2 separate regions of the Homo sapiens genome follow, and region 2 is linked to region 1. The links are contacts of gene promoters, found by promoter capture Hi-C in human tissues and cell types (Jung and others, 2019). All regions are on one chromosome and are shown on one strand. The core of a region is centred on a gene start or on the middle of the fragment in contact, and the rest is flanking DNA. Distances in the headings are between cores, read along the strand shown. Region 1 holds the start of DPPA2 (developmental pluripotency associated 2). Region 2 has its middle 43 kb from the start of LINC00488.

Region 1 (3,373 bases), core at 220-2,719:
ATATTTGAACATAACATATATTTGAATACTTTGATAATATTAAATAATGATTTTTTAAATTATGTTTAGATGTAAAAAGGATATCGTAGTTATAATAGGAACGAAGTATTTTTTCCCCCTGGATTTATTTATTTATTTATTGAGACAGCCTCACTGCAGCCTCGGGCTCCTGGGCTGAAGGGATCCTCTGACCTCAGCCCCCTGAGTAGCTAGGACCACAGGCATGTCTCACCACACCCACACGCCCGGTTATTTTATTTTTATTTTCATTTTTATTTTTTTGGTAACAATGAGATCTCACTATCTTGCCGAGGCTGGTCTCATACTCTTGGGCTCAACTGTTCCTGCCACCTCGGCCTCCTGACGTGCTGAGATTACAGGTGTGAGCCATGGCACCGGCCTTTTCCCTGAATTTATGAACGAAATCATAGGCGATCTGGCACTTGTTTCAAAATAACCCATGGAGGAGGAATGGACGGCAATTTAGATGTAACCAGACTGGCTGTAAGTAAATTACTATGACAAAAAGTAGACACACTTTTGTACATGTTTGAACCTTCCCATAATAAAACATTCTCAAAAAGCTGGGGAAAAAACCCCAGGAAAACAAATAAGATTTTTTTTTTTTTTTTTTTGGGGGGACAGAGTCTCTCTCTGTCGCCCAGGCTGGAGTGCAGTGGCGTGATCTTGGCTCACTGCAATCTCCACCTCCTGGGTTCAAGCGATTCTCGTGCCTCAGACTCCCGAGTAGCTAGGGAGTCTGTTCCCTGTTTGTATTGACTACTTCCACGACTGGTAAGCTCTTCCTCAAAAAGTGTAATCTTCTCTAAAGTTTCCCTAAGCTATTCCAATATAGATTCTTCCCATAGATTTTCATAGATTTTCTTACTTTTTTTTTTTTTTTGAGACGGAGTTTCGCTCTTGTTGCCCAGGCTGGAGTGCAATGGCGCAATCTCGGCTCACCGCAACCTCCGCCTCCCGGGTTCAAGCGATTGTTCTGCCTCAGTCTCCCTAGTAGCTCGGATTACAGGCATGTGCCACCATGCCCGGCGAATTTTTGTATTTTTAGTAGAGACGGGGTTTCGCCATGTTAGCCAGACTGGTCTTGAACTCCTGACCTCAGGTGATCCGCCCGCCTCCGCCTCCCAAAGTGCTGGGATTACAGACGTGAGCCACCGCGCCCGGCCTAAAATGATTATATTGTAAAAAATGCAATGAAGAAAAGAAAACATGGTAATGAAATGGTCTTCCCACTCGAAATCCTGTCCCTACCTAAGGCATTAGGATCAACTCAGGCCATTAGGTCAGCTTTCCTCTAAATTGCCCATTCAAAGCACCAGGGGCCACACCCAACCGGGTAGGCGGAGTGCTTTCCTGGCTGCATCTTAGAGGGCTGCATTCAGGTTCCACCCTGGAAGGGAGGAGCCGGAATTCCGATCATTATCTGCCGCGGACTGCCTGTCTCCAAAGCCCTTTGTTTATGGCCTGATCTAGCTAAGGCTTCTAGACTTCAGGAGCTTAAGAATCGTCCGGAGGGCTGGGCGTGGCGGTGCAGGCCTGTAGTCCCACCCACTCCGAAGGCTGCGGAGGGAGGATCAACTTGAGTCTGGGAACTCAGCCAGGAATTCAAGACCAGCCTGGGCAACACAGTGAGGCCCCCTACCCACATCCTCTCCGTCCCCGCAATCTCCTTCCATCCCAGGTCTCCTCTCTACAAAAAATTTAAATATTAGCGGGGCGTGGTGGCGCGGGCCTGTAATCCCAACTACTGGAGTGTGGGGGGAGGGGCGGGGGTGGGACGGCATGGGCTGTAGTGGGAAGATCGCTTGAGTCCAGGAGGTCGAGGCTGCAGTGAGCTATGATCGCGCCACCGCACTCCAGCCTGGGCGTCAGAGCCTGTCTAAAAAAAGAAAAAAAGAAAAAATTACCTGGAGGGCTTGTGGAAGCACAGATTCCTCAGCCCCTCAGCCTCACCCTCCATGATCTGATTCAGGATGTCTTGGGTGGTGGGGTGGGGCCTCATAATTTATTTTTCCAATCAGTTCCTCAGTAAACTGAAGCTGAGCTTTTTCAGACTACATTTTTTTCTTTTGTAAATTTATTTATTTATTTATTTATTCATAGAGATGAGGTCTCACTATATTGCCCAGGCTGGTCTCGAACTTCTGGACTCAAGTGGTCGTCCTTCCTCGGCCTCCCAAAGGCCTCCCAAAGGATTACAGACATGAGCCACCGTGCCAGGTCCAGACAATATTTTGAATGTGTTAAATACACTAGTAACTTAAATGGACCATGGTCACCCTGGGTCCTGAGATTAATGGACCAAATCATTTTCCCAGGGACAGAAAAAGCCCATTGTAAAGGTACTTGGTTGTCCAGTGCTGCCATATTATTGGTGAATGAAATTTCCTTTAGTTGCTCTGGCTTCTTAGAGTGACCTATGAGAACACCTGCTTCATATTTTGCCACATTCCGTGTCCAACATTAGGCTCCAGCAATTCCTAAGTGCATCGTTCCTTCTGCCTTCGTTACTCCACCACTTGCCTTGGTGTTTTGGCTCTTGTTGCTATTCTGAACAGCCAAATCCTTCTCCTCCAACCAGCTCAATATTATTGCAGGCTTAATATTTGTATTTAGAACTAGATCGAAGAGAGATTATGTTATCCAACCCCCACAATTTAAATCTGGAATCTTTCAGTGAGTAACATACCCCCGTGCATAAATCAGGTATAAAATACCTGCGTAAAATGCTCTGAATCTTTTTTCCATTCCCTTCGTAATAAGTAATTTGTTACCAATATCGTCTTATAACTGTTCTAAAACATTCTGTTCATTCCATTGGAACTTGTCAACAAGTGTTTGTCATTTTCAGTTTTCTTTCAAGTTTCACCTATTTTTTTTTCTTCTTTCTTTCCTTCTTTCACTTGTTGAGACAGAGTCTCGCGAAGCTGGAGTGCAGTGGTGCGATCTCGGATCGCTGTAACCTGCGCCTCCTGGGCTCAAGCAGTCCTCCCACCAACCCCTCCCGAGTAGGTGGGATTACAGGCGCTCGCCACAACGCCCGCCTAATTTTTGTGTTTTTTTGTAGAAATGGGGGTCTCGCCATGTTTCCCAGGCTGATCTCGAACTCCTGGACTCAATCGATCCGCCCCCCCTGGGCCTCCCAAAGTGCTGGGATTACAGGCATGAGCCATCGCACCCAGCCTAATTTTTAAAAAAACATTGTCACTGAATGGACAAGACAGGGTATAAAATTGATAAAATTATCCCATTACCAGAAAATGAGGGAGGGCAAAAAGAGGAGGAAAGGAAAACAAGAGCTCATCTGGGTAACAGGAAGTAGAAGGAAACATTTGCTTATAAAAGGAGAAAG
Region 2 (3,373 bases), core at 602-3,101, 96 kb after region 1:
CATTTCTTTTTGCTATGTAGAAGCTCTTTAGTTTAATTAAGTCCCATTTGTCTATTTTTGATTTTGATGCATTTGCTTTTGGGGTCCTCATCATAAATTTTTTGCCTAGGCCAGTGTCTAGAAGAATATTTCCTAGATTTTCCTCTAGAACTTTTGTAGTTTGAGGTCTTACATTTAAGTCTTTAATGCATCTTGAGTTAATTTTTGTATATGGTAATAGGTAGGGGTCCAATTTCATTCTTCTGCATATGGTTAGCCAGTTTTCCCAACAACATTTATTGAATAAAGTGTACTTTCCTCATTGTTCATTTTTGTCAACTTTGTTGAAGATGAGCTGGTGTAGGTGTGCAGCTTTATTTCAGGGGTCTCTAAAATGTTTCATTGGTCTATGAGCTTTTGGTTAGTATTCACTTTAAAAGGATCATTTCTGTGGGCTTGACCATAAGAGATAAATTCATTTTTTAAAATTTTTATTTTTTTTCAGTGTAGGATCAAAACTACAATTAGAATATAAGTGTAAGTATTGAAAAGCAATGTAGTTATGTGATTTTCTTTCTAAGAGTTCTAAGATCAAAATATTTATGAAAAACATTTTTGGTGGCTATCATGAGTTTTTAAAGATTAACATAATTTCTGAGAGTAGTTTTGCAGGTAAAATTTAGGTCATTATAAAACATATGAGTTATGCTCTAAAATTAATAGTTATATTTATCAAGTGACTATTCTGTGTCAATTGTTTTACGTACATTACAATGATCTCATTTATTCCTTAGAGACGAAACAAACATTTAAAAGTTGAGTGCAGTGGCTCATGCCTGTAATCCCAGCACTTTGGAAGTAGGTGGATTGCTTGAACTCAGGAGCTCAAGACCAGCATGGGCAACATGATGAAACCCCATCACTACCAAAAATACAAAAAATTAGCCAGGCGTGGTGGCATGTGCCTGTGTTCCCAGCTACTCAGGAGGCTGAGGTGGGAGGATTACTTGAGCCCAGGAGGCGGAGGTTGCAGCGAGCCAAGATTGTGCCACTGCATTTCAGCCTGGGTGACAGAGTGAGACGCCATCTCAAAAAAAAAAAAAAAAAAAAAAAAGATGAGGACCTGGAAGTTTGTAATTTTGTTTAGATTTATTAGGTGGAAGGTGCAGGATTGGAAGCCATGAAAAAATGCTCATCACTGGTCATCATGCCACATTTTAAATGTTGCAAAATCTCTAACCAGAAAGTTATAACCAGAAGTTTATAAAATCTGTCCTCTAACCCCTTAATACCACCTCCCCCAAGTCCTTAAAAACAGTCCAGTCCTCAAAAACCAGATTCTTTCAATTTCTCTGGGGTTAAAATTGCTTTTTTTCTGTAGACAAAGGAAGCAGGATCAGGAGGGAGGACCAGATGAGAAGAGAGTTTGGGCACTTAATTGTTACCACTTTGAGCAACATACTTTGAACTCTCTGAATCCTCAGTTGCTCATCTGTAGAGTGTGTTTAATGGTATGTAGGCTCACGGGATCTGTGGCAAGGCCTAAATGAGGTCTTGGCTTGGTTCCATAAACACATATGGAACCTTTAGCAGACTCCCTGGCATGTAGTAAGTGCTCAATAAATGGCAGTTATTACTACTCTTCAGGGTCTGGGGCTCCTCCTTGAAATAATTTCTAATAATAACAATAATAATCATGGTTAGTATTTACTGAGCACTGACCGTGTACCAGAGGCTCTTCCAAACACTTTTTTTTAAACTAGAAATCAACTTTATTATTTATTTATTTATTTATTTATTATTATTATACTTTAAGTTCTAGGGTACATGTGCACAACGTGCAGGTTTGTTACATATGTATACATGTGCCATGTTGGTTTGCTGCACCCATTAACTCGTCATTTACATTAGGTATTTCTCCTAATGCTATCCCTCCCCTTGCCCCCCACCCCATGACAGGCCCCCATGTGTGATGTTCCCTGCCCTGTGTCCAAGTGTTCTCATTGTTCAATTCCCACCTATGAGTGAGAACATGTGGTGTTTGATTTTCCATCCTTGTGATAGTTTGTTCAGAATGGTGGTTTCCAGCTTCATCCATGTCCCTGCAAAGGACATGAACTCATCCTTTTTTTATGGCTGCGCGTATTCCATGGTGTATATGTGCCACATATTCTTTATCTAGTCTATCATTGATGGACATTTGGGTTGATTCCAAGTTTTTGCTATTGTGAATAGTGCCGCAATAAACATACGTGTGCATGTGTCTTTATAGGATTTTATTTCTCCTTCACTTATGAAGCTTAGTTTGGCTGGATATGAAATTCTGGGTTGAAAATTCTTTTCTTTAAGAATGTTGGATATTGGCCCCCGCTCTCTTCTGGCTTGTAGAGTTTCTGCTGAGAGATCCGCTGTTGGTCTGATGGGCTTCCCTTTGTGGGTAACCCAACCTTTCTCTCTGGCTGCCCTTAACATTTTTTCCTTCATTTCAACCTTGATGAATCTGACAATTATATGTCTTGGGGTTGCTTTTCTCGAGGAGTATCTTTGTGGCGTTCTCTGTATTTCCTGAATCTGAATGTTGGCCTGCCTTGCTAGGTTGGGGAAGTTCTCCTGGATAATATCCTGCAGAGTGTTTTCCAGCTTGGTTCCATTCTCCCCATCACTTTCAGGTATACCAATCAAATGTAGATTTGGTCTTTTCATGTAGTCCCATATTTCTTGGAGGCTTTGTTCATTTCTTTTTACACTTTTTTCTCTAAACTTGTCTCCTCGTTTTATTTCATTCATTTGATCTTCAATCACTGATACCCTTTCTTCCACTTGATCAAATTGGCTATTGAATTTTGTGCATGTGTCACATAGTTCTCGTGCCATGGTTTTCAGCTCCATCAGGTCATTTAAAGTCTTCTCTACACTGTTTATTCTAGTTAGCCATTCGTCTAATCTTTTTTCAAGGTTTTTAGCTTCCTTGCGATGGGTTCGAACATCCTCCTTTAGCTCGGAGAAGTTTGTTATTACCGACTTTCTGAAGCCTACTTCTGTGAACTCATCAAAGTCATTCTCCATCCAGCTTTGTTCCATTGCTGGCAAGGAGATGCAATCCTTTGGAGGAGAAGAGGTGCTCTGGTTTTTAGAATTTTCAGCTTTTCTGCTCTGGTTTCTCCCCATCTTTGTGGTTTTATTTATCTTTGGTCTTTGATGCTGGTGACCTACAGGTGGAGTTTTGGTGTGGATGTCCTTTTTGTTGATGTTGATTCTATTCCTTTCTGTTTGTTAGTTCTCCTTCTGAGAGTCAGGTCCCTCAAATGCAGGTCTGTTGGAGTTTGTTGGAGGTCCATTCCAGACCCCTGTTTGCCTGGGTATCACCAGCAGATGCTGCAGAACAGCATATATT

The links. Contacts are between HindIII fragments. The study calls those that stand out against the background at their distance.
Region 2: a fragment that was not itself captured here is called in contact with the fragment with the promoter of DPPA2 in region 1 in 3 of the 25 tissues and cell types used here (adrenal gland, aorta and small bowel).

Annotation. Positions count from the first base shown.
Region 1 is chr3:109,314,613-109,317,985 of GRCh38, reverse strand. It overlaps DPPA2 (developmental pluripotency associated 2), which reads left to right and starts at 1,469. Exons shown (of 9, transcript NM_138815.4): 1 at 1,469-1,702. The HindIII fragment of the contact is 15,346 bases long and covers 1-3,373 here.
Region 2 is chr3:109,219,389-109,222,761 of GRCh38, reverse strand. No RefSeq gene overlaps it. Among named protein-coding and RNA genes, the nearest start is that of LINC00488, 43 kb to the right of the region's middle. The HindIII fragment of the contact is 7,551 bases long and covers 1-3,373 here.